4 separate regions of the Homo sapiens genome follow, and regions 1, 2 and 4 are each linked to region 3. Evidence: promoter capture Hi-C in human tissues and cell types (Jung and others, 2019). All regions are on one chromosome and are shown on one strand. Each heading gives the region's core, a stretch centred on a gene start or on the middle of the fragment in contact. The rest is flanking DNA. Distances are from core to core; before and after follow the strand shown.

Evidence for each region. Contacts are between HindIII fragments. The study calls those that stand out against the background at their distance.
Region 1: a contact is called between a fragment that was not itself captured here and the fragment with the promoter of PAQR9 in region 3, in 1 of the 25 tissues and cell types used here (mesendoderm cells).
Region 2: a fragment that was not itself captured here is called in contact with the fragment with the promoter of PAQR9 in region 3 in 3 of the 25 tissues and cell types used here (hippocampus, lymphoblastoid cells and spleen).
Region 4: a contact is called between a fragment that was not itself captured here and the fragment with the promoter of PAQR9 in region 3, in 2 of the 25 tissues and cell types used here (H1 embryonic stem cells and hippocampus).

Annotation. Positions count from the first base shown.
Region 1 is chr3:142,727,112-142,734,300 of GRCh38, forward strand. All of the region lies in intron 1 of TRPC1 (transient receptor potential cation channel subfamily C member 1), which reads left to right. Among named protein-coding and RNA genes, the nearest start is that of TRPC1, 6.7 kb to the left of the region's middle. The HindIII fragment of the contact is 4,663 bases long and covers 3,280-7,189 here.
Region 2 is chr3:142,816,196-142,823,225 of GRCh38, forward strand. It overlaps PCOLCE2 (procollagen C-endopeptidase enhancer 2), which reads right to left. Exons shown (of 9, transcript NM_013363.4): 8 at 4,683-4,850; 9 at 1,679-2,270. The coding sequence ends at 2,140. Among named protein-coding and RNA genes, the nearest start is that of PCOLCE2, 69 kb to the right of the region's middle. The HindIII fragment of the contact is 5,097 bases long and covers 3,174-7,030 here.
Region 3 is chr3:142,962,424-142,969,156 of GRCh38, forward strand. It overlaps PAQR9 (progestin and adipoQ receptor family member 9), which reads right to left and starts at 1,251. Exons shown (of 1, transcript NM_198504.4): 1 at 1-1,251. The coding sequence starts at 913. PAQR9-AS1 (PAQR9 antisense RNA 1) reads left to right here and starts at 1,635. Exons shown (of 5, transcript NR_125393.1): 1 at 1,635-1,675; 2 at 2,042-2,213. RefSeq lists a silencer at 280-465. The HindIII fragment of the contact is 8,480 bases long and covers 1-5,868 here.
Region 4 is chr3:142,800,062-142,806,829 of GRCh38, forward strand. TRPC1 (transient receptor potential cation channel subfamily C member 1) reads left to right here. Exons shown (of 13, transcript NM_001251845.2): 10 at 2,108-2,283; 11 at 3,916-4,117; 12 at 4,375-4,569; 13 at 5,947-6,768. The coding sequence ends at 6,174. It also overlaps the pseudogene RNU7-47P. Among named protein-coding and RNA genes, the nearest start is that of TRPC1, 79 kb to the left of the region's middle. The HindIII fragment of the contact is 5,234 bases long and covers 2,242-6,768 here.

The sequences.
Region 1 (7,189 bases), core at 4,361-6,860, 230 kb before region 3:
TTGGACTTACTAGTTGAAATTACATTTTCTTTGTATGGATGCTTTATAAACCTTGATTTCTGTGTATTACATTTGTTCAATGAAGGGTAAAAAGCAAGCATGGTACTTCAGTAGCACCAGAGTAAATCAACTCTAGAGTATCTATGGTGTTCTAGAGTGTCTCATTCTTTTCATGTAGCATTCTTGTTGTACATATGCAAAATGTTCATAACATATTCTTCTTAGGAAAAATTGAGGAATTCCTAAAGCAAAAATTGTGGAGATGAGATGGATATGTGTATGTTAGTGGATGGGTGGCCCTTTGAAAGATGTGTACAGATTAAAGAGTACAATAAATGTAGGAAAGAGAAAAGAAAAAGATTTATAGTTTGTGATAGCTGGCTTTTATGTAAGTAAGTTCGGTAGATTTAGGCAACTGCTGATCTAGGTAGTGGCCACTTAGTAATGGCTGTTAGTGATCTTCATAGTGGGTGAGGATCATCTCAGAGGTAACATTGAATCCTTTCTTTGTAAAGGAAAACCTTAATTGAAAGTTACTGTGCCAGCAATATATAAAGTGAAGTCTAGGACCCCCAGATAAAATTCTCAGAAAGTATACTCATGTTCTTTCTAGAGATAGAAAGCTATATAAATTCAGAGGTAAAACTTAATTGAAACAAGAGCTGACTATAAATATGTTGTTTTATGAAAAATTAAGTAGTGATTCTTACAGCCATGGCTTTGTCCTCTCTCATTGAGAATTAGTGTCATAATGAGCCTCTTTTATTTGTAGGCACCTATGGTGTCCCTCAGGTCTGTTAACAGGAGAAAGGGTAAATAAGTTTATTTAGAAAACACCTAAACTAAGTGTAGTTCATGTTAATTTTCCTCTAAAAAAAAAAAACTTGTTGAGTAGATGGTAGCTTTTAGTATATATTTGTAAATATAAACCTGCATAAACTGTTTGATTTGCTGATGATCATTAATCAGTTCATGTGGAGGAAAGAAAGTATGAAATGATTCAGTCCCTGCCAACTCTCCATGGAGAGTATTTTCAGGAAATCTGATGTGCGGTAAATGAGTTAGAAGCCCCTTCTTGAAATTTCAGCATGGGGTTAGGGGGAGGGATGGAGAGAGCAGGTTTTCACCTTTATCAGTGGGCTCAGCCTAGTCTCAGTGTCCTGTGTCACCTTTGTGGTAAGATTTGCTGTGTTGTAAGGAAAAATGTTTTGATGACTGTATTTCTTTTTTTTTTTTTTTGAGATGGAGTTTCTCTTGTTGCACAGGCTGGAGTGCAGTGCAACCTCCGCCTCCCGGGTTCCAGCGATTCTCCGGCCTCAGCCTCAGCCTCCTGAGTGGCTGGGATTACAGGTGCCCACCACCACGCCCGGCTAATTTTTTTGTATTTTTAGTAGAGACAGGGTTTCACCATGTTGGCCAGGCTGGTCTCAAACTCCCGACCTCGAGTGATCCACCCGCCTCGGCTTCCCAAAGTGCTGGGATTATAGGCGTGGGCCACCGTGCCTGGCCTGATGACTGACTTTCTCCATAAGCTTTGTGTACCTTTGGGCTAAGGATGCTTTAAAAATGTGCAACAACTCCAGAGAGAAGCCAGAGTCAGAAGAAAAAAGTGCAGCATTTCTGAGAGAAGTAATATTAAGCTGCTGTTTTTTAAACACCTTATTTATATATAATGGGCCTTTAAAATTTTTTTACTTATTTGAGAAGAGATTTTGAAGTCTGGTATTAGAGAGGATGGTGGTGGGAAGAAACAAAAAATGCAGAGTACTGAGTATTGGTGTGAAGTGTTATGTTGACAATGGGGCACCTAATGTAAGGAGGTATGTGCTGTGAGGAAAAAACTTTGCAGAAATGAGAGGTAAAGAGGGTATTGTAGGCAGCATTCTATAAACACTTCACAAATCATCATAGACATAGCATTTATGTACTTTATATAGGAAAGCTTTTCAAATAACCAAAGTTTTACAATGTAATAGTTGAAAAACATTGCCATGGCGAACGGTTCAGGGATACTTTAACAACAGCAACGAAAGACTCAAATTGCGAAAATCTTAGTGGATAATTTATCTCTAACAGACTAGTAATTCAGCAGCTAGCTGCCTGGTAGTTCTATGATACTGGTAATTCTTTATAGTGATCACGCAACTTTGCTGCTCTTTTTCTGTAAGTCACAATCAAACTATACTTATCAAGCTGTTAATTGTGTTAAGGCACTGTGAAAGTGCTTTATCAAGAAAGTACTGAGTACATCCCTATCCTTTAGGAGAATATTCTTTAATGGAGATGCTCTCTTGTGCTCTAGCGAGGAGAAGTAAGGAAACAAAAGTATGTTTGTATTAAATATATCTGTCTGAAGGGAAGAAGCAAGTGCTCAATTTAACTTAAATGGCCTATATGTGATTTGGAGAATGGGATATTACGTGTACAGGGTCAGTCTTTTATCTGGGCAGTTAAAAAAAATGTAACCCAAGCCAGACTCCTAGCTATACCTTGTATATAGACTTGGAGGAAGAGTGTGAAAAGATTAAATTTTATTATATAGGTATTATCGTAACCTAATAATTCCTCTTCTACCTTGCTGCCAGTGCTCTAAATATCTTCTTCATTGCTAACTCTTCCAAATTTAATGATACTGAGAAATTTAAGATTTAAGATCAATAGTTGAATAGGTAATGAGGATTTCAAAAGTTATCACTAAGATGTGATTAACTAATGACTTTTAGGAGCCTAGATGAATGATAAGGACTAAAAGAATTCCAGCACTGTATCAATATAGTCATGAGACTCAGTAGATTTCTTTGGATGCCAAAGCTTTGTTATGTATAAAGTGGGGGTGACTGGCACTGTTATTAATAGCTTCTGTTAATTTTTAAACATATGTTTTTCTAGATTAACATATTGGCCAGTAATATATTTTTCTAGTTTTATAAATATGTATAATTCAAATGTATATGAGATTAAATTTAAGCAACACAATAAATCCTTTCTGAGACTGTGTTGCAACAACCTGATATAAACTAAGTTTTAAACAACTTACAGCAGCATTGTGAATGGGATCTCATGTCATTTATCAGACTCTAACTACAAAATAAACATTGCTTTTGACTATTTTTCTAATAGAGTTAAGAATATGCTGTTTATAATTTTTATCAACTGATTTACTATGAAAAAATCAGCATTACCTTCTGTGCTATAGTGTAATTTTTTCAGGCAGCAGTGTGAATCTTTGCTCTTTTGCCAAATGATATTCATTATTATTAATGGTCCTCATTAAGATTCATAAGCAACTAAGAAATTATGGTAATAATTGTCTTTTTACAAAAATGTTCAAAGTGTTATAAACAGTTTAGCCTACCATGTTTTTTAGTATCTTTAATTTTGAAGGTTTCATTTACAATAATATGGTTATAAATACATTGGGGTCTGTAATACGAGTTTTGCACATTTGATAAAGCTACATTTTAAATCATTTTCACTGTAAAAAGTCTGCATGGGTTTTTTTTTTTTTTCCTTTTTAAAATTTGGTTCAAGCTAATTTGAAGTTTGATGTCAGTTAACATTTTTATCAGTATTGTCATTTATATTTCCAGATCCAGCAACTGAACTTGATCATGTCTTTTTATTTTTTCACATCATCATTCTTTTTCCTCTTAATAAAACTTTCTGTTTTAAGCATCATTGGTAATATTTCAGTTAGAATGTTGCAATTGCCACACTCAGGTTTGTTACAGAAACTTGGTTTGAAAAGCTTTACAAATTTTTTGACATTAAATTCTCTCACACTTCACAACTAACTTCAAATTTGGTTAATATAAAATTAAACTGAACAACATTGATACTCTCTTTGCCATAAAATCAAACGAGATGCTAATGAGGAAGAGGTGGAATCACCTGTTCTTAATCAGTATTGTAACATTTCTCCATTGTATTTCTCAAGGGTTTATTACAGTTGGCCAGAGTAAATTTGTTGCTAAGGATCTATGGGATCACTCTGGTATTTTGTATACTAGTTCATTTTTTTTAAATTGCTGGTTAGGACTCACTAAATTGATTTTATGACTGTTAATGGGTTGCAACCTGCAGTTTGGAAAACATTGGTTTGGAATGATCATTGGCTGAGCCGCAGAGAGGCACAAGATGAATTCAGAATGTTAACAAGGTCTAACTAAGTCCTATAGGGCTTTGTAGGCCACAGTAGAAATTTGGCCTTTATTTTAAGTGTGATAGAAAAATCACAAAGTTTGTAAGCTTGATATGTTTTGATTTTTTTTTTTTTTTTTTTTTTTTTTTTGAGACCGAGTCTCGCTCTGTCGCCCAGGCTAGAGTGCAGTGGCGTGATCTCGGTTCACTGCAAGCTCCGCCTCCCACGTTCACGCCATTCTCCTGCCTCAGCCTCCCAAGTAGCTGGGACTACAGGTGCCCCCCACCATGCCCGGCTAATTTTTTGTATTTTTAGTAGAGGCGGGGTTTCACTGTGTTAGCCAAGATGGTCTCCATCTCCTGACCTCATGATCCGCCTGCCTCAGCCTCCCAAAGTGCTGGGATTACAGGCATGAGCCACCGCGCCCGGCTTGTGTTTTGAATTTTTAACCGATAACTCTAGCTGTGGAGTGCAGAGTGGATTGAAGGGGTGGGGCTAGAGCAGGAGTGAGCAAACTATGGGCCACAGACCATATCTGCCTGTTCTGTGAGGTCTTGGAGCTAAAACTGGTTTTTTACATTTTATATTTCAAATGGTTAAAAAAAATTTCGTAACACATGAAAAGTCTATAAAATTCAAATTTCAGTGTCCATAAACAAAATTTTCTTAGAACACATCCACTATCATTTGTTTACATATGGTCTGTGGCTGCTTTTGTGTTGAAAGGGCAGAGTTGAGTAGCTGTGACTGAGAGTGCATGGCCCACAAAGCTTAAAATATTTACTCTCTAACCCTTTTTCAGAAAACTTTGTTGACCCCTGTGCTACAGTATAAAGTATTAGTAAGTAATATAAGTTGCAATAGGGAAAAGAGTAAACAAGGAAGGGGGTGAGTGTGGGCTCAGTGGAGTCAGGGAAGTGAAAAATTACAAAATACGGGGCTTGGGGAGTTGGTCCATGTGAATCCCACCTGAGTTTGCTAAAGGCACTTAAGGAGTTAGGCTCCTACCCTCCCTGGAGGCTGAGAGATAGGGGCCCTGTCTTCAGGTGTTGGCTGGAACAAAAGTAAATTTTTATGTCAGCTTTGAGTTTTCTCGGGCAGGCATTTTAAGAGGGGCTAGGGTCATCCTAGGGATCCGGCCTTCAGCTGTTAGAAACACTTAAGTGTTTTGTTCAAGTTTATATGGGCCAAGGTGGAGGCCTTGTGGAGAAGGGCTCAGAAAAGCCTGACTAGAGTTTGGTTAAGGAGAGAATCTTGGTCAGCAGCTGTGTTAGTTAAGAGGCTATTGCAGAGTCCAGGAGGAAGATCATGGGGGTTTGGACTGTGGGTAGCAGTATACATGGAGACAAGTAGATGATTATGGGAGATATTTTAGAGAGGGGGCTAAGAAGACGTGCTGTTGAATTGGTATACTCCCTGTGGAATTGATTGAAAATGGTTTCTTTTTCCTTGACTGAAAAAGACTACCATCTAGCCAAAAAAGTAAACAGATTATGTTGCACTTCCTTCTATGTGTTATATTTTAAAAGACAAAAGATGTAACTCTTGAAAGCAACTTCGTTATAAAATGAATGGCATTTATATATTTGTCTGTCATACACAGGCATTTTGAATTGTAATCCTTGTTCTATAACTAGCTACTTGCTGTCTATTTTAAGTTTTCTGACCTCTTTTTACATATATACTCATCCTAAAAATTAAGAGTGTTCTGGTCTTTTTTTTTTTTTGACATAGTGCATTGTTTTAAATGAATTGCAAATATAAACTTCTCTGAAATGCTTAGCAACCACTCTAGGTTTCCTGTAGGTTCTGTGACTATAATGTGATTTTTCATTTGCATGACTGTGTTAGCTGTAGCAGGGTGGAACCTTTTATTTTTAGGGATGAAAATTATTTATTTGGTTTTGATTTTTAGGGATTTTCTTTCTTTCTTGTATAGCTCCTTGACTACAATAGAAATAATCTTTAAAACCTTAGGGCTGGGCACGGTGGCTTATGACTGTAATCTCAGCACTTTGGGAGGCCAAGGCGGGCAGATCACTTGAGGTCAGGAGTTCGAGACCAGGCTAGCCAACATGGTGAAACCACATCTCTACTAAAAATACAAAAATTAGCCGGGCGTGGTGGCAGCTGCCTGTAATCCCAGCTACTCAGGAGGCTGAGGCAGGAGAATCGCTTGAACCCAGGAGGCAGAGGTTGCAGTGAGCCAAATGGTGCCATTGTACTCCTCCAGCCTGGGTGACAGAGTGAGTCTCTGTCTTAAAAACAAAACAAAAACTTTAAAGCTGGAATATATGATATTTGTAATGTACTTTCCTTTTTAACAGCAATCTAAACTTTTAAACATGTAGCAGTTATTTTTGTCTATTTGCTATACCTGAAATTTATAAAATGTCATAAGGATTTATTTGTGTAGCTCTTCCTACGTTTCTGTCTCTAGCAATATGGTTGATTAGATAATCTGAAAACCTTTCTTCTTCAAATCACCTAGAAATTATAGCTAAAATATAATGAACATCCAGTTAAATGAACAGCTGAGCTTTCAAGAAAGTAGGGGAAACAACCAAGATACAAAAGTGAAGAAAAAACTGAAAAACAGGAGTTTGTGAGCTGACACTATGGCTGCTCCATGGGTGGGGATAAGAGTTACTGTTCTGGGCATTGCAGGGATTTGAGTCTTAATGCCCATATGAGAACAGGTTACAAGGCCTGGAGACTGTACAAAGTGAGGAGTTGGATTCAACATCTAAGCATAAAACCAGGATTCTTAAAGGACTGTACCTTCAGCAAAGAGGTAGATGAGGAGAAAAACCAATCTACCAGCACATGGAGACTTCAAAGAAGCTTGTTTGTGTTATTGTGGGCTCTGAATAAGGCTAAAAATAAGACTCCTTTAAGAATACATAACCATGGTCCTGCCTCTTGTTGTCTTGGGGTTCAAATTAATACTACTTTCAGATAATTAAACTGTCATACAGCGACTACAAAATAATTATGTTTAAAATGATGAGAAAGTTAAAATAAGGAAATGAAAACATAAGAAAATAA
Region 2 (7,030 bases), core at 4,472-6,971, 140 kb before region 3:
AGGGCTCTGCCTCATAAAAGAGCCCACCTCTCAACACTGTTGCATTGAGGATTTACTTTCCAACACATAATTTGGAGGATACAGTCAAACCATAGAAAAATGATTGTTTAAAAAGGAAAGAAATTACAAAGTGGTTGTTATTCCAGAAAGAGCAGCTTCACGATTCATCTTATCTCTATGTTTTGAATAACTGAAGTAAAAGACAAACCAGTGCCACACACTTTTAACCGTGAATCCCCTAAGCAGTTGTAAAATACTGTGTCAGAGATGTCAATAGTATGAATAGTTTAGATTACTCTTCTCAGTTTTTACCCCACTGTGACTCAAGCCCCCACTCACCTGAAGAAGTCTTTCCGCTGGTCATGCAGAAGCTTGATACCCGCCAGCATGCTGCTTGTAATTCACCAATAGGAGATTCTATTCAGAAAGAAGAAATACTGAAATCTTTAGGATTCCCTCCTAAGTCCCGGAACATGTATTCTTAAAGGGAAGCAACTTGCTTTGAGAAGGCTGGAATCAATGAGGAGTCCACAGTTACATCCTGTGCTGGGCGCAGCTGGTCTGCGAAGTTCAGCTGGCTAAGAGAACTTTCTAAAAGCTGACACTGGCCAGGGAAGCCAGTCACCCACTGTCATCAGGGTCTTCTAGTTCATCTACTTCCTGCTGACGGCTCCTCAGTGGGAAAGTATAGGAGCAGTTTCTGACCTGCCTGTCAGCCCAATTTTGTCGTTTCCTTAGGCTCACCCAGCTGCCGTAACAGAGGGAACAGAGTTCCTTCTGAACTTCTATTTTGCCACCCTTTAAATGTCTGGTCATCCTAGGGCTGGGAATTATTGTTTTCATCTAAAAGAGTATTTTCCCTTATTTCCAAAACTTTGCTTCTACCGTGGAAGAGTTTGTGACCCACGTCTTTGTTCATCCCTAATGTTCTTTCAGCCTTCTTTGGATAGGGATGGTTATCCGCTCTCCCACAGCCCCTGGCTGGTAACCTCCTACAGGGCTGGTTGCTGCACTCATATAGTTGTGCCTTAAGCAGCTCTATGTGAATGAAGGTCCTTTTGCTGTTCTTCCACTAATGAGTGAAAATAGATTTCTCAAAGGCTCTTAGCTGATACAGCCTGATCCAGTTAACTGGGGATAAACAGGGCAGCAGTGTCAAGCTCACTTCTAATTTCAAGTTCTGTAAAATGACCAATTATATAGGCTAGTAAATACTAGCCTAAGTACTAATATTTAGTACTTCACTCTTCAAATCAGGATAAGAGGGCTTTCCTCTGGGGGTAGGGAAGGCTCTTCTAGTGGCAGTGAGGGCAAAGGGTTTGGAATTAGGACTCTTTAGCTTGATTGTTTTGTCTCTTAGGAGACATGTGCTCTGGCAAGTCACTAAACATACCTGAGCTTCCGTTTCAATTACAAAATGAAACAGTGTGGACTAGATCCCTGAGAGATGTTATTCTAGCACTAACATTCTCTGTTTCTGCAGAGAGAAGAATTATAGTCTATTGACATTACTGGATCCATTTAGTCCCTGAAATTCTTGGAATGCTCTTTTAGCAAAGTGTAAATTGATACAAAGGCAATCTTATGCATAAATCACACTATTCTTATTGCTAAAAGGGAATATTCCTTCTACAATGTCCCACTATCTATAAAAAGAAGTTTAGTGGTTGTTCTGTAATCCTTTAAAAATATTTTATTAAGCATTGATTTAGAAAACGCAAGACAAGATTGTAACACCTCAGGGCAAAGGCTTGAAGGTGAAACAAATAACACTATAAATATTGCACTTCTAAAATCTTTTTTTGACATCTTCACACAACTCAATTCTAAAATATCCTTTTACAGAGATGTATAAATAAACGCTTCCAAGCTGTCAACGCTTGACACTTTTAGCTTCCTATCACCGCACTAAGTCGGCAGGTTTCCAATCAGATAGCTGCTCCTCTGACAGCAGGCAAAGAACTTCCCTCAGCTATCTCGGAGGCCTCATACCTCCATCATGTGAAGAGTCAACCAGTCCCATCTTTCGGAATCCTCTTTCAGAATATGTAATTTTATAAGTATTTTTTTTTCTACTGAGAGAACATAGATCTTTCAAAGGCAATGGCAGAATACAGCTTAAATGGACACAGTTCACTGTTAACATTGCTTATTTTTTAAGGCATCCAGGAGCTTCTGATTCTTGGTCTTGAACATCATGATAAAGCTGTTTGGCATGATTTTGCCTCGCCCATCTTCACCTACTTGGCCCATAATAATGTAATTTAGACCTAAAGAAAGAGAATACAGAAATTAATCTTTTTCTCTATGTATCATGTGTGAAACAACTTAGACTGTAAGTTACCTCTAGATAAATGTTCTCTTCTGCAAATGGTAAGATTATACATGTATTCCATCCACGATAAAATCTGGGTTTCTTGTTTTTGCTTTTTAGAGATGGGGGTCTTGCCATGTTCCCCAGGCTGGTCTTAAACTACTGAACTTAAGCGATTCTCCTGCCTCAGACTCCAAAGTAGCTGGGACTACAGGCACACGCCATTGTGCCTGGATGATAAAATCTGTTTTAAGACTCTCATCGGCAAAAAGCCAAATTCAACTAGTAAGGTATTTCAGCTACGCTAACACCAGGAAGCTGGACTGAGTGGTTAGATCAGCCATGTCCCGCTCTGCAGTGCTGTAGGTCTGTTGTGGTTTCAAATGCCTGCTATGAAGAATGCACCGCGTTAACGTGAAAGACTCTCCTTCCTCGAGGGGCCTCCAGGGCTCCATGATGGGCCATCCTCAGATGGCTTCTCAGTCCCATCATGTGTCTGGATTTTCCTGGCATTTGGCAACCAATGATCCACTCTCTTATGTTGCTGTTGTCTTGAACTTTAATCAACATCTCAAACATGTATGCTACGCAAGCTTCTTGAGGGCATAGATGGATCATATACTACTTGCATTTGTACAGTTTCTTGCAAAACATCGGTGTCAAGAGTACTTATATTGGTTATACTATGTTTTTATACATTGGTGTGACTGGCTAAGTTAGGCCTAGACTGGGGCCTGAGGTGTTGGGTAACTCTGAATATTTATATTACCTCAGAAATAAATCAGAAAAAAAGGTATGGGTTAATTCCTCCTTTAGTTCCCCTTTCCCCTGGTGTGTCATAGAGAAAATGTGTCCTTTTTCTCTTGCATTTTCCTGTGTGGGTGGACCTTGTCATCACAGTGGTCTGTGAGAGCCTGAGAGTCTGGGCAGGTAATGCTGCCTCAAGGCTGAAGTGCTAGCAGCATTATGAGACCTTATAGAATCTTGAGGTGCAGTATCTGCTGCTCCTGGCAGTTCTGGAAAGAAATGTTTCTCTTTTACAGAGCCTTTGTGATTCTCTCCAGAGACTCAACATGAGGCTACTAGCCTCCTGACTTTTCTGAACAATCTGAATTCACAGTAAAGCTTGCTTTATTTTTAAATTTTTTTCTTTTTTTAGACAGTCTTGCTCTGCCACCCAGGCTGGAGTGCAGCAGTGTGATCATGACTCACTGCAGACTCGACCTCTTAGGTTCAAGGCATCCTCTTGCTTCAGCCTCACGAGTAGCTGGGACCACAGGTGCGCACCACCACACCCGGCTAAATTTTTTTATTTTTAGTAGAGCAGAGGTCTCACTATGTTGCCCAGGCTGGTCTCGAACTCAGGCTGAAGCAATCCTCCCATCTCAGCCTCCTAAAGTGCTGGGACAGTAAAGCTTTCTTGAAGTGGATATTCTGTATCTTTCTCTCTCTTTCTCTCTCTCTCTCTCTGTGTGTATGTGTGGAAAGATGTTAGAGCTTATGTAGGGGAAAAATTGCAGAACTTGTGTGTGATATGATTCCATAAGTGTATATGCCCATGCTTTATGTGGATAGAAACTTTCTGGAAGGAACTTAAATTTTTTTTTTTTTTATAGAAATAGGGTCTCACTACATCACCCAGCCTGATCTCGAACTTCTGGGCTCAAGCAATCCTCCCACCTCGGCCTCCCAAAGTGCTGGGATTACAGGCATGAGCTACTGTGTCTGGCTGGAAGGAACTTTTTAGAGTACTTCTAAGGAAAGGAAAAGGGTTTCACTTTTAAACATACTCTTACCTACTTATTTCAACTTTTTAAAAACCATGAAACATATGTTACTTTTATAAGTTGTTAAATACATATTCTTAAAAAGTCATGTGCCTCTAGCTCTGGAGTAACTTTCCGTTTTTCGTAATTTCTTTCAATAAACTCACTCCCATCCATGGACTTAATAGTCCTATCTCTGCAAATGATTCCCAGATCTTGATTCTAGCCCGGATATACCTCCCTCTTCTGAACTTCGGGTCTGCATTTCCTGTTGGCTGCTGGATATTTTTCTTTAAACCTAGACAGTACTGGCATCTTAAGTGCAATAGTCTAAAATCTCTCCACCCTGCACTGCTCTGTGTGTCTGTTGCCTATTGACTCAACTTCAAACGCTTCTTTCACTTGTTCATCATGTCCACTACCCCTTCTTCTGCCACAAGTTACAAGGACTTGGATGAGAGCCCAATTCTGCCTGACTCCAAAGGCCTTCCTGCTCTGCAAGAAGTGGGCAACATATTAGCCCTGATTTTACTTCCCTAGACCAACCATGGCATGGAAAATCCATGGCTTGCTCAGAGACACCCAGTTTTCTCCCTACTCACCTCTTCTGAGGAGAGGGCACTGCTTGCAGACGACAGTCAGCCTGGCACTCATGTTCTTGCCCGCCTGCTGAATCGCCAAATTTCCCTCTTTGTAGATGTTGATGATCGAGACTGTGGCGTGCAAACTCCCATCGCGAGTGATGGTTGTGATAACAGTGCCGGCTAATACTGCAGAAGAAAACATTTTGAAGTGATGTGACAGTGAAGGCAAATGCAAGCAGAACTGAAAAACAAGTTTACATTCTTCTAAGTTTCAGATACGAAACATTTTAATGTTAAAGAAAAGGCCCTCATAGAGGTTTCACATTTGCTTCTGTACATTTGTCACCAAAATTCAGGTTGGAGCTGTGATGTTACGCTGGTTGTTGGGGATTGATAACTAGAAGAGAAGCCTAAATACTTGCCACACTGCGGTCCATTGCCAAGGTTGAAACTCTTTAAAACGTTTTATCCAACTTGTGGCTTGATTGTCACATAGGGGATAGTCTGGCTTATGAGGCTCTACCTGTGAATACTCAAAAAGATCTTGTATCTTTAGAGGCAGTACCACGCTAAAAGATTGCGCGATGGGGGTTTGGGCCACTAAGATGTGAGTCTTTGTGTCGGTGTGGGTGTGTAGCCACCTTTCTGTGTCTCTCCTCACCCTTCTCTGTAGCTGTCCTTTCTTCCTGAACTTTTGTTCATTCCCTGGGTCCTCACCTCTGTCTAATTATCAGGAAAGCTCTGTCTTCTACGGTCTTTCATATTCTCTTTCTTATCCACTCCGTTTATTTCATTTAACAAGCTGAAGTATAGAACTGAGGTATTAACTTAAACTTTTTTTTTTCTTAAAAAAAAACCTCTAGTAAAATTCAGTTGATTTTTTCATTATGTAAACCCCTGTTTTTTCCATCATGACACTCCGAGAAAAGAGTCTCTCTTTGAAGCCACAGAAGGAAAGATGTTGTCTTTCTCACGGGGGTGCGCCTGGCATTCTGGGGGCTTGAGCAAGGACAGTTCCTTGTGGTGTAGGACTTGCACTGAATACAGTTTTTTTTTGTTGTTGTTGTTTTTTCATGAGATGGAGTTTCGCTCTTGTTGCCCAGGCTGGACTGCAGTGGCACAATCTCAGCTCACTGCAACCTCCACCTCCCAGGTTCAAGCAATTCTCCTGCCTCAGCCTCCCAAGTAGCTGGGATTACAGGCATGCACCACCACACCCAGCTAATTTTGTATTTTTAGTAGAGATGGGGTTTCTCCATGTTTGTCAGGCTGGTCTCGAACTCCCAACCTCAGGTGATCCACCTGCCTCGGCCTCCAAAGTACTGGGATTACAGGTGTGAGCCACTGAACCTGGCCTGAATACATTTTTTACCAGCCTTGTCCTTCCTAGAAAAATCAGTAGCAGTTCCTAGTTATTGTGACAACCAAAAAAATGCAGTAATCTAACATCTCTACCACTCCCCAGGGGAGCATTATCAGCCCTGGTTGAGAACCAGTGACTGATGATAGTTTTGGTCATTTTGCCATGTAAGCGGTCACATTAATGGAATAAATCAAGTTTTGGACTTGGTTAATCTGACTCCTTCAGAATAAAGTGAACACTCACTGCTTAGGCAGTGTGCAATGTTCATAAAATCAGAATTCCTATGATGCTTTACTTTGATCCTGCGTGATAAGTGTTCACTCCAAAATTCAGTCTATAGTCAAGTGAAATCAGTGGCTCCCAAGACACAGGGAGGGAGACTTCCTGAAGCACCTCCTACAGAAGAGTAAACTGGATGTGGTAGCAATTACATGTGGCGTTGTTTTCACATTTATGCCAGTTATTTGAATTTCAGCATGTGAACTCTAGTAAGGTTTAGGGTCCCAGAGTCTTCAGTGTCTTCACACCTTCACTATGATACAGCTCGTCTGGACTACAGAAGTCACTTCAAGGCACAGAAAAAGCAAGCAGAGCCTCTCTGGGGAAGTTTTGTTTGGGGAAATGTATTTAGGCCATAGCAACTTGCTCTTCCTGATCAGATTTGTCTTAAATGTTCCTTTAAAGCCACTGAAAAAATAACCAAGATAAAATGTTGTATCTTTTGCTCTTAAGTAGCTATCATAGATGGTGCAATCTTTCCACTGGAAAAAGCTCTTAAAAATTCTAAATCATTAAAGAACACCTCCTCAGGTTCCAGTTTGTGAGAGTTTCCAAATGGACTCCAGATTTCCAACTTTTACTTCAGTACCTCAGAAAGGCAGTACAGGGGAAATACTTGAATTTCTTCTGAGAGAGACCAGCTTCTGAATATAAGCTCGGGTATGTTTCTAATTTACTTAAGTTGAGTTATAGATGTGTGAAAAAATACTCTGTATATGAAAAA
Region 3 (6,733 bases), core at 1-2,500:
CGAAAAGACCCGGCTGGATGCGCTCGGGGATCTTGCTCACGTTGAAGAAGGCGGCCACCACCAGCCAGAAGTAGCGGCGGTAGAAGTGCACGAAGAGTGTGGGGTTCTCCCCACGCAGGTCGAAGAGCCAGCTCTCGAGCATAATGGGGCAGGCCATGCTGAGCGGCATGACGAAGACGAAGGTGCGCAGCGCGAACGGGTAGGTACACCAGTCGGTACGGCTCTTGCAGCAGGCCACAGTGCAAGCCACCGCCAGCACGAAGGCCACAGGCAGCACCAGGGCGCGGTAGGCGGCGATAAGGCGCGTGCAGTCCACGTGCCAGCCCAGGCGCTGCTGCAAGTATGGAGTCATGACTCTGGCATCCAGCAAGCTGAGGCCTGGCAACAGGTAGTAGTAGTAGGCCACCGTGCTGCCGAAGCCGTAGTAGCTGATGGACGCGTAGTCCAGGTAGAAGAAGGCGGCGCGCAGACGCAGCGACAGGCAGCTGAACACGTGCGCCGTGCAGCTCATGGCGAAGGTCAGCAGCACTCCCGACGCGTAGCACCACAACGGTAGCAGCCACGGGTGGTGGAAGGGCACGTCGCCGCCGCTCAGGAAGAACAGACGGCAGAACTTGCTCAGGAACAGCAGCAGCGGGATGAAGTGCGTCCAGAAGTTGAGCGTCTCGTTGGTAGGCTTCAGCACCGAGGCTAGGCACTCCTGGGCCGTGCACGGCAGACGCCGGTAGCCCGACAGGATGAAGCACTCCACGAAGTCGTCGGGCACCTCGTCCCAGCGCAGCAGCGGCTTGGCAGACGCTGGGGGGTCCCGGGAGGCGGCAGAGTGGGAGTTCCGGGCGGCCCCCGAAGCTGCCGGGGCCGGGGCCGGAGGGCCTTTTGTGCCCGCGCCCCGGGGCTGCAGGCGCCGCGGCATGGTGCCCGGGGCTCGGCTAGGGCGCGCGCAGGCGACCTCTGGCGCCGGCTCCCGGGCGCTGGGCAGCCCCCGCCGGCCGCCGTCGGAGCCTTTGTGCCCACGCCGGGGGCGTCGCTGCAGGTTTAGGAGAAGACCCGTGCCTCCGAGCAGCCGCTCCTAAAAATTAAATAAATCAATAAGAGAATCAATTAATAGGCAGCGCTGCGACCGCCAGGAGCGCGGAGCGCGCGAGGCTCAGCGGCTTCCTCGCCAAGCCCCTGCTACCGGCGCGCGGCCGCCCGCGCTGCGGCAGCGGCGGCGGCGCGGCTGACTGCGGCGGCAGCGCGGCAGCGGTGACTGGGCATCGCGCGGTGCGGGTGCCTCCGCCGCCGCCGCCCCCGGAGCGGGAGGTGGGGATGTGCGAGCCGAGGCGCGGAGGGAGGGACGGGCGCACCGAGGAAGGGCGGGGGCCTCCCAGGCTAGGGTTTCGCGGCCGCTTCGGGGGATAGAGTTGTCCCCTGTCTCGAGTTCCGTACCATCCCCCTCCTCGGGCCGCCGCAGCCCGGGCCGCCCCGTTAATGATTGATGCGGGGGCCGCAGGCTGGTCGGCGACGCGGCGGCGCGCGCGCCGAGTACTAGAGTCGGCCCTGGGGTTCGAAACCCGACAGCCACGCGGGCGTTCTGGAGGACACTGGGGAGCCGCGTTCGCGGGGGGCGGGGAGCTGCGGCTGCGGGGGGAGGGGAGGGCGCCGGAGCCGGGCAGGGCGGAGAGATGCGCCAGCGGTAATCTCCGGAGGTCGCCGGGGAGGGGGGCACTCCGGAAGTCGGGGGGCTTTAAGCCCGCGTCCGGATCGGGGCCGTGTCATTGTCAGCTACCTGGGGATGCGCCTCTCGCTCCCTCACTGTCTTTGCGTGTGTGTTAGTGTGTGTGTGTGTGTGTGTGTGTGTGTGTCGGCCTGTCTACGCACTACACGAAGGCTTAGTTGGTCTTCTTTCGTCTAGTGGGCGCACTCAGGTGCGTCACCATTCTGCCGTTTCCCTCGCCCTTGTCCTGTCCGAAAGAACCGTCCGCAAGCTGCCCTGTGGTCGCGCTCACCAGCTCTTCGAGCCGCAGCTAACCCATCTTCTTGTTTTTGTGTCTTTAACTAGGACTTCTATTTGGAACTGAGTCCGACAGCTCAGGACTGGCTGCTCAAACTCCACAATTTAATGAAAAATCTCAGATGATGACTCAGAAAACCTCTAATGATCTGAGGAATATATTAAGGGATTCCAGAGTCAAAGGCTGATCATGGAGGGCATTGATGAGGGAAGACTTCAGGTAGGAGGTGCATTCTAGCAGGAACTGAAGAGAATGAAGTCCAGTTGGTAGAAACGGAGGGGGTGGCTTGGATAAATCTTATATGTAATTAATCAGAAGTACCTGGCAGGTGGCTGGAGACCAGAAGAAAGGAACACTGGAAGAATGAAAACGGTTGTGATGCACTGCAGTGTGAAAATATGCCCTTGAGCCTTAAAGAAAGGGGCTTAAGGCCGGGCGCGGTGGCTCACGCCTGTACTCCCAGCACACAGATCACGAGGTCAAGAGATTTGAGACCATCCTGGCCAACACGGTGAAACCCCGTCTCTACTAAAAATACAAAAAATTATGTGGGAGTGGTGGCGCACGCCTGTAGTCCCAGCTACTCGGGAGGCTGAGGCAGGAGAATCGCTGGAACCCAGGAGGCGGAGGAGGTTACAGTGAGCCGAGATCGCGCCACTGTACTCCAGCCTGGCGACAGAGCGAGACTCCGTCTCAAAAAAAAAAAAAAAAAGAAAAAGAAAAGAAAGGCTACTTTCATCGCTACTGCACATCCTCTAAGTAGGTTAAGGAAGATTTACTTAGTAGAGCCTCAAGATGGATTTAAGTTATGGATAAGAATTATTTATAACTAGGATATCATTCAGTATTATAAGTGTCTGCAGTTACTTAAGGATGCTAGAAACAGTCTAGAAGTTTCAGTCTTCTCTCTGAAGTATACTTTCAAGTAGTAACTGATTTAGCAAGCTCTTACACAATTAGATCAAACGTGCGCTTCAGTCTTCTGCCTTTCTGCACTGCCACACATTCCTGTCTAGTGGATTTTTTTTTTTAGGCGTGGATTTTTAAGAAGTGAGATTTTGTTGTAGTTATTTAGCCAGTGTCTTATTTTAGTGTTTTCTGGTTTTCCACTGTTTGTAGCTTGTTTTAAATTGAAATCTAATTTCCTTTTATATCTGGACTGAGGACCCATGGCTATTTGTAAAATGGATTAAATTTAGGTGTTTTAATCAAGTGTAGGAATGATAAACTTGAATCCAGGGCAGGCCCGAACTTTTTTTTTTTTCATATTCCCTTTGTTACTCCACAAACAACCAGAGCTGTCACGTGTAAAAATGGTGATCCTATAATAATTCTTATATTTACCACACTCTTAGTTGCATAATCAGCTCGCTTACATAATCTAGAAAAATATAATAGAAAGTTCACTTCAAGCAAAACAATGGAATTGACTGTAAATGGGTATGCAAAAACTTGAGTTAGATAAAATATCTTTATGACAAAGAATGGTGAGATTGACTCTAATAAAATATGTTCTTTTAAAAAATCAGTATTTTATAAAGTAAAAAAAAAATGTTTCATGTTAAGTCTTTGAAAAAGTCTTTGTGATATCTGCCTTTGTCCTTTCTCACACATCCCCTACCCTGCTTGAGGCACAAAACCAGTTGATGCCATGGAGTGAGTGGTGTTCATGAAAGTTCACTGGTGCAGAGCCCAGTCAGCTGTCCTTGCTATACCTTGACAAAGCTCAGTAAAAAGGAACTAAGGAAACAGCAAAACTGACCTAACTTATAAAGTAAAACAGCAATATGGCTTTTCCTTAATTGCTACCAATCTATAGAATTAATTTCTCTTACTTTTTAAATTGAGATATAAAAATGTGGCCCCCAAATCCTGCACAGGCTGAGTTTTGTAGTTTGTTTTAACTCCAGCAAACTGTCTCTTGTCAGTGGGAACCATGCTCACATCCTCTGGACTTGGCTAAACAGAAGCAATGAGCAGGGTGCCATTCCCTGAAGGTGCATTGGGACATAAGGCATCTCTAAGGTAACCAGGACTGACTGCAAAGTTTTTGACAGACAAGAATCACCAAGTTACACTGGAAAGCCACTGCTGGCATTTAGAGGCAAATGCCAGCTAGTTCTATCAATTAAAGTTAAATCAAGACCACAAATGTGGTGTTGGTAGTTCAGTGGAGGCTCTGTACATCCAGGTGTTGAGGGGTCCTGGCTGCAAAATGCAGTCATGTGTCATGTGTTGAAACTGTAGCAAAAGGGATGAATGCTCTTTTCAGTCTGGTTTGCTTTGGTAATGTTCTTGTAGACCAACTACACGTTTTTGTTTCTTTCTACAGGAATAATATTAAGTATATGTAAAAATGCCACTGCAAATTTGATGTTGTTTAGTAAGGGCAGTTAGCTATCTGTAAAACCAGCAGAAAAATATGCTGTGTTATTGGCTAATAATATACCTATTTTTAGAGGAAATAATTTTTTCTTGTCTAATTTTTAGCCAGAAAACAACCAACTAAAGAAAGAAATAAAAAGAAAAGAAGAAAGGAAAGAAAGGAGAGAAAGAAAAGGAAAGAAGGAGAGAGAGAAGGAAGGAAGGAGAGAGAGAGAAAGGAAAGAAAAAAGAAGGAAAGAAGGAAGGGAAGGAAGGAAAGGAAGAAAGAAAAGCACAGCACTATGGACCTAGTGCTTAATTGTACCCAAGACTCTGTATTAAGAGAGAACTCTGTAGGGTTCAGTCCCTCTTCTCAGAATATATAGTTTAGGCTGGGCACGATGGCTCACGCCTGTAATCCCAGCATTTTGGGAGGCCAAGGCAGGTGGATCACTTGAGGTCAGCAGTACGGGACCAGCCTGGCCAACATGGCGAAACCCTGTCTCCACTAAAAATACAAAAATTAGCCAGGCATGGTGGTGCATACCTGTAGTCCCAGCTATTTGGGAGGCTAAGGCAGGAGAATCACTTGAACGTTGGAGGCAGGGGCTGCAGTGAGCTGTGATTGTGCCAGTGCACTTCAGCCTGGGCAACAGAGCAAGACTCTGTCTCAAAAAAAAAAAAAAAAATATATATATATATATATATATATATATATATAGTTTAAACAAAGTGCTTCCCTTTTCCCTAAATGGAAAACAGCCATGATCTGACAGGTCAAATATAGTCACTACCAAGTCATATAGTCTAAGCTTCCTAATTGTGGAAAATCTAATGGTATCAGGTGTAACTGTAGCAACCTCTAGTGACAAGTGCAATCAGAAAGCCAGGTAGAGGGCTGGGAGAGAGCAGTGGGAGACTGAGTTATCTGGCACTGTTCCTGCCTGCTACTGACTGGGTGACAGACATGTCTCTCTGTTTTTTTGTTTTTTGTTTTTAGAGGTGGAGTCTTGCCCTGTCACTCAGGCTGGAGTGCAGTGGTATGATCTCGGCTCACTGCAACCTCCACCCCCTGGGTTCAAGCAATTCTCCTACCTCAGCCTCCCTAGTAAGTGTAATTACAGCTGCATGCCACCATGCCCGGCTAATTTTTTTATGTTTAGTAGAGACGGGGTTTTACCATGTTGGCCAGGATGGTCTTGAACTCCTGACCTCAAGTGATCCGCCCACCTTGGCCTCCCAAAGTGCTGGGATTACAGGTGTGAGCCACTGCGCCCAGCTGACAGGCATCTGTTTTGAAGAAAAGCTAAGGGAAACTTGAGGATGCTTTTTGTTTTGGGGGTGGGGGGTTTTTTTTTTTTGGTTTTCTAAGGCTTTATGAAGGGAGTGACAATGCTACACTCCCCTCCCTCAGCAAATTCACCTATTTTCTTCCTGGGGTCTCTAGAGTGGTTTCACAAGACTAATGAAGGGGAAGAATAAAATATTACTTCTGCTTAAATAGATGTCATCCTTTTCCATGCACATGCTCTGTGAAGGTTTTATGATGCACTAATATGTAGTCTATGAAGATAATGTATAAATAATATGTTGGGACACGAGGGTGAACCAAAACACTTCACCTGATAAGAATGTGCGACCCAAACTGCTGACCTACTCTCGATAGTCCATTGCTCTTGTTTGTCCAGCCTGCTTCCATCCCCTCTCCCAGATCCAAGATGGATGCCATTTCCTGCCACTCAGATGGCTGGAAAGGCTGTTTGGGGTCACCATCTGTAAGCCAACAGTCCCCAACCTCTGACCAGACCTGCCCAAGTGCCCAGGCCTTCAGCCCCTTCTACAGCTTCCTTGACCTAGGATGGTGGTCTCTGCTCTGGAGCTGTTTTTCCCAGGTCTGCCCTTCCTGTTTCCTGATTGGAGCCTATATTGTTTTCCTACAAAGGCCTTGTATTAACTTACTATATTGAATGTAATTCAGAGTTACCTTTTGGGGAGGAGACTTGTTTTATCATAGGCTGTTGCTTGCTTTTGATAGAGCCTTTTGGATAGCTTCCATTTAACTTGAGAAACACTTAATACAAGTGTGTGAGCTAGATTACTGAGTTTCTTCTCCCCATTATTTATCAACAGTTCTCCTTGAAACAAAGATCTTTGCACATAGTAAGCACTTAACACATTGTGGCTGGGAAATTTTTTCAGTACCGTAAGCTTTTAAAAGGTTAGAACTTAGAGTCCTAGAATCTTAGAGTAGGACTGCCACTTAATCCTTAAAGTCATCTAGTCCAACTCTCTTCCCATTCGTTATAATTGCTTTGGTTTATTGATAATGTACTATATTCAGGTATTGTGATAGGCGTTTTACATATACTTAATTC
Region 4 (6,768 bases), core at 3,609-6,108, 160 kb before region 3:
ATTCTTACTGTCATAAGGGATTGAGTTCTGTACTGAGATGGTATAGCTTTATTCTAAGCAATCACAATCTGAATGGATGCTTTTCTTTCTCAAGGTGATCCAATAAAGCTGTCATTGATTAAGAGGAAAATGCATTTCTTCTCCTTCTTACATATTTTGAGTTTTCTGATTCTAAGTGTCCCCTGCTTCTTGTGTCAGAATTTTGTAAGGGGGCCAAGTGAGGGCAGCATAGGCCTTGAAAAGTACCACATGGTCTAGTCAAAAGCACAAGTCAGGCATATTGGACCTCTCCACTATGGCAGAGTCTGGGTTACTAGCTTGTGGCGTGCCTAAGAATTTAAACTCACCTATTCTGCTTAAGTAGCTGGTCCACTTTAGTGGGCTGGAAGCATCTGGCCAGTTGCCTGTGGCTACCATTTTGTATCACTGAAAGCGGGATGTGCTATGCTGGCCGACTTGGGCCAATTAGGAATTTTATTTAAAGCTTGATGTAATTAATTATATAAATTTGACCTGTTAAATTTGAGGAAGGGTTGTTTCAAAACACTCAATTTTGTACATTAAAAATAATGAGGCCAGGCACGGTGGCTCACACCTGTAATCCCAACACTTTGGGAAGCTGAGGTGGGCAGATCACTTGAGGCCAGGAATCTGAGACCATTTTGGACAACATAGTGAAACCCGATCTCTACTAAAAATACAAAAAATTAGCTGGGCATGGTGGTGGGCATCTGTAATCCCAGCTACTTGGGAGGCTAAGGCAGGAGAATCACTTGAACTTGGGAGGCGGAGGTTTGTAGTAAGCTGAGATCACACCACTGCATTCCAGCCTGGGAGATAGAGACTGTCTTAAAAAGAAAGAAAAAAAAAAAAAAGTCTCCCTACTATACCCTTAGATATATGCCCTTCCATAGATAAACATGGTTAACAATTTCTTATGTAAACTTCCAGAAACTTCCTATGCATATTAAAGCATATCTATATTAAAATATGTATCTTGTCTATCCTTTAACAAAATAGAAATGGGGGCCGTTCTACATATACATACTGTTTTATACCCTGCTTTTTGGATTTACTGTCTTACAGCCATCTTTGTATGCTAGCACATGTAGATGTTCTTCATTCTTTTTAAAAACAATGTTGAGTAATGTTACAGCTCTTTTAGAATTTGTCTAGCAGGCTTTCCGGTTCTTGCGGGAAAGTCCCCCCCAAAAAATATTAAAAAATAAAAAATAAAAACAATATTGAGGATTTTCTAAAATTTTTTTGCTACCTCTAACAATGTTGCAATGTAAATCCTTGTATATACATGCATCTTTGTGTACTTCCTATCTATTGGTTAAATTTCTAGGGATAGAATTGCTGGGTCAAAAAAGTACTATCACATTATTCCCCAAATTTGCATGCCAATTTAAAAACCAAGAATTTATGAAAAGTACCTAATCTCTAAATTTTGAAGAATGAAATTAGGATTAAAGCTTCCATATGCACTATACATGTCTAAACTACAAAAGATACTCACTACTAATACTGGACACCCTCATTTGGCTTGCACACATAATATTTTCTTAAAATGGACCCAAAGGGAAAGAAAATCTATCACTTCAGCAAAAGAAATTAGGGCAGTCCCATAGGAGGAAATGCTGATTTTAGGAATTGGTTTAGAATTGGTTTCAAAAATCAGGTGAAATACTTTGCCTCATAATGATTTTATGTTTGTAAAATTTAAGAAGCCATGTAAATATAAGCATTTATTTCTCTTTAAGTTTGAGCAGGGTATTTTCCTTTTATCCCTTGCAAATTAGGCCTTTTCTTAAATCTCCATATCTCTGCCTCTATCTCCATAACAACAATGTCCTCTGAAACCCTGATCCAGGTTCTAGGAACGTGCCATCTAACACTGATAGTGTTGGTATGATTAGAATGACTTTTTGTTAGGCAGCTGGATTTTCGATGTTTTTAAAATGATCTGTCTCAACCAGATGCAATAGAAGGGGTGGCCTGTGGATTATGTGTTTGTCTTCTTCCTTTTGTTGCTGGGTCATTTATATTTAATATTTTGTTTTTCTGATAATCTTAATGAACACCTGTGTAATATATTCCACAGATTTCAATGGGACAGATGTTACAAGATTTTGGAAAATTTCTTGGGATGTTTCTTCTTGTTTTGTTTTCTTTCACAATTGGACTGACACAACTGTATGATAAAGGATATACTTCAAAGGAGCAGAAGGACTGTGTAGGCATCTTCTGTGAACAGCAAAGCAATGATACCTTCCATTCGTGAGTATCTTTTAAATGTTTTAGTAAATATATTTGTCTTTTTTTTTTTTACCATCTTCTATATGAATTAGTATCTATAGAAATGGAACTTCACATTTTAAGAAATTCCTTAGTAATGTTCATAAACTTTAATAAATACTTATTTTTCATGAATCACTATAGTCATCTTTACATACAGCATCTTAAATAGTGGGTCCAAGTTATTACCTTGTCTTCCCTACTGCAGTCTATCTTAACAGAGGAATTCTTGGCATTTTGTGTGTTCTTAGCATTTTGAGCAATTCTTTGTCATTCCTATGTATTGCAAGATGTTCAGCATCTCTGTCCTTCAGGTATTAAATGTCAGTAGCAACTCTCAGTCATTGTTACAGCCAAAAACGCTCACAGCTTCAACACTTTTTAAGAGGTCATTAGAATTGAGAATCATTAGAACTTCATGAACATTTTTTTCTCTAATGTATCATAAGGATTTGAATAACCTGTTTTGAGGTAAACAAAATTCCTCCCGTCATTTTTAAATAAAACAATGGAGAAGAGTTGTGGAAGGACACATTTGTCATGTTCTTATTATGTGTCAACTATTCTTTAGTTATTTTGTGTGTCATCTTATGTAAAGAATAAGATTAATGAGTATGTGTCAGTGTACCACTTACTATATACCAGCCAATGTTCTAAGTGCTGAGCAAATGAAGTATTAGTAAACAAAACTACCCTGATGAAGCTTACATTCTAGGGAGGTGATACAGGCAATAAAAAGAGGAGTAAAATATTCAGTATGTTACACAGTGGTCAGGGCTACAAAGACAAATAAAGCATGAGCAAAAGAGTGTCTGTGTGTCAGAGTTCAGTTTTAACTAAGGAGCTAGGGAGTGCCCCAGAAGAGATGACATTCATGTGAGGATCTAAAGCTGGTAAAGGAGCAAGCCACGAAGAACATTTCTGGGGGAAGAGCATTTACAGAGAGAGAGAACGGCAAAGGCAAGTGTCCAGAGGTAGGAGCATGACTGGTATGTTCAAGAAAAAGCCAGGCAGCCAGTGTGGATGGAATGTGTTGAATCAGAGGGGGAGTTGTAGGAAATGAAGTCAGAAAGGTAATGGGGATCATGTAGGACTTTTTTGCCCTTGTAAGGATTTTGAGTTATTGAGATTGAGAGTTATTTGAAGGTTTTGAGCAGAGGTGTGACAAAATCCAATTAGATATTAGCAAATCATATAGGCTGCCTTGTTGAGAACAGACAGAAATGAAGTCAGAAGGGTAATGGGGATCATGTAGGACTTTTTTGCCCTTGTAAGGATTTTGAGTTGTTGAGATTGAGAGTCATTTGAAGGTTTTGAGCAGAGGTGTGACAAAATCTAATTAGATGTTAACAAATCATATAGGCTGCCTTGTTGAGAACAGAAAGAAAGGCAGCAAGGGGTTAAACAGTTACAAATAATTTATCTTCCTTAGGGTCTCTTTGTTTAAATTTAAAGTAAGGCATATCAGTACTGTGGAAGTCAACATCATTTTTAAATAAGGAACTTTTCATGGATTATCAATGTTTTATTTAAATAATTTTGATATAAACAAATGATTCATTTTTGCTAATTTCTTTAATTGCCTTTTAAACAGAAATGCAATTGTCTTTACAGGTTCATTGGCACCTGCTTTGCTTTGTTCTGGTATATTTTCTCCTTAGCGCATGTGGCAATCTTTGTCACAAGATTTAGCTATGGAGAAGAACTGCAGTCCTTTGTGGGAGCTGTCATTGTTGGTACATACAATGTCGTGGTTGTGATTGTGCTTACCAAACTGCTGGTGGCAATGCTTCATAAAAGCTTTCAGTTGATAGCAGTAAGTTCATTCTTTTAAAAACTTTATATTCTCCTCAGACCATACTAAGTGCATACAATAGATAAGATAGCCAAAGATTATAAGATTATAAGAATTGAAAAATAGTATTTTTAAATTAAATATAGATTTTTAAAATGTAAGTAATGTATAATAATTGCAAATGTTGAACAAAATTTTTCTGCAAGGTGTGGAAACATCCCCCATATTTGTGTGTGTATTAATATTCTAGTTTGCTTTTTAATTTGCCTTTTATATAGAATCATGAAGACAAAGAATGGAAGTTTGCTCGAGCAAAATTATGGCTTAGCTACTTTGATGACAAATGTACGTTACCTCCACCTTTCAACATCATTCCCTCACCAAAGACTATCTGCTATATGATTAGTAGCCTCAGTAAGTGGATTTGCTCTCATACATCAAAAGGCAAGGTCAAACGGCAAAACAGTTTAAAGGTAAGAAATTAGAAGCTTGAATGGCAACATAAAAGTTTTAACAATTCCTAATCTCAGATATTTCTTAAAGCGTAAGTATGCAGGTTCCCTAAGGGCTGTGACTGTCTGACTTTTTTTCACTGCTATATACCCTAATGTACGGCATCGCATCCAACATAAAGTAAGGATTCAATAAATACTATTGAGAGTGAGAGGGCTGGGTGCGGTGGCTCACGCTTGTAATCCCAGCACTTTGGGAGGCTGAGGCAAGCACATCATCACTTGAGGTCAGGAGTTTGAGACCAGCCTGGTGAAACCCCATCTCTACTAAAAACACAAAAACTAGCTGAGTGTGGTGGCACATGCCTGTAGTCCCAGCTACTCAGGAGGCTGAGGCAGGAGAATTGCTTGAACCCAGGAGGTGGAGGTTGCAGTGAGCCAGGATCATGCTACTGCACTCCAGCTTGGGTGACAGAGCGAGACTCCACCTCAGAACAAACAAACAAACAAATATATATATACACACACACACACACACACACACACACACACACACACACATATAATTATTAAGAATGGGAGATAGTACTGAGATTTTTTTTTTTACTTTTCAGATTCCTCCAATATATAAAATTTCATCTCATAGTTTTAAAACATGGGAAATATTCAAAATACCCATTCTGTCACTGTAGCTAAAGAATGACTACTAGAATCAGCTCATATTTTTCTGGTTCTTCTTGAAAGTTATTCAATACATCAATAATTCAATATATGTTACTATAAACCAGGGGTTGGGACATTTTTTCTGTAAAGGTCCAGATAGTAAATACTTTACACTTTTCAGGCTGAGACAAAATCAGAGATATTGTAAGCAGTGATACAGTAAGAGAGAAAACAAATTTTCACAAAACTTTTATTGATAAAAGTCAAAATATAACAATAACAGTAATAACTTTTTAAATATAGGTCTACTAGTGAAAAGAATGGAGTTCCTTTTGGGAGGGGATAAAATTTCACTTAACTAGAGTTTAAAATTAGTGTTATTATCAATTGATGATAAATGTTCATCTGTAAAATCTATTCTTAGCTCACAGGCTGTAAAGTCAGGATATGGACCATATTTGGCTTGTGGGTTGTAGTTTGCCAATCCCTGCTATAAACTAAGGATTCCTAAGACTAATTTTTTTCAATCAAGATAAGCATAAAATTAAATTCATTAAACAAATATGCAGGCTATATTTGTTTTAAACAAGTGTTGAATATTATACCATGTAGTAGAAAAACTATAGTCTAATAAAGCATTTAAAGATGTGTTTGTGTCTGTGAATATATTTTTGAACTCTACCTCATTTAAATATCGTTTCTGCATATCCTTAGTATCATATTGTTGTTTTGAAGGAATGGAGGAATTTGAAACAGAAGAGAGATGAAAACTATCAAAAAGTGATGTGCTGCCTAGTGCATCGTTACTTGACTTCCATGAGACAGAAGATGCAAAGTACAGATCAGGCAACTGTGGAAAATCTAAACGAACTGCGCCAAGATCTGTCAAAATTCCGAAATGAAATAAGGGATTTACTTGGCTTTCGGACTTCTAAATATGCTATGTTTTATCCAAGAAATTAACCATTTTCTAAATCATGGAGCGAATAATTTTCAATAACAGATCCAAAAGACTATATTGCATAACTTGCAATGAAATTAATGAGATATATATTGAAATAAAGAATTATGTAAAAGCCATTCTTTAAAATATTTATAGCATAAATATATGTTATGTAAAGTGTGTATATAGAATTAGTTTTTTAAACCTTCTGTTAGTGGCTTTTTGCAGAAGCAAAACAGATTAAGTAGATAGATTTTGTTAGCATGCTGCTTGGTTTTCTTACTTAGTGCTTTAAAATGTTTTTTTTTATGTTTAAGAGGGGCAGTTATAAATGGACACATTGCCCAGAATGTTTTGTAAAATGAAGACCAGCAAATGTAGGCTGATCTCCTTCACAGGATACACTTGAAATATAGAAGTTATGTTTTAAATATCTCTGTTTTAGGAGTTCACATATAGTTCAGCATTTATTGTTTAGGAGTATAATTTTATTTTATCTAAAATAATAGTCTATTTTTTCTTTTGTATTTTGTTATAATCTTAAGCAACAAAGAAAAAACCCTAATATTTGAATCTATTTATGTCTTTCAATTTAAATTCACTTCAGTTTTTGT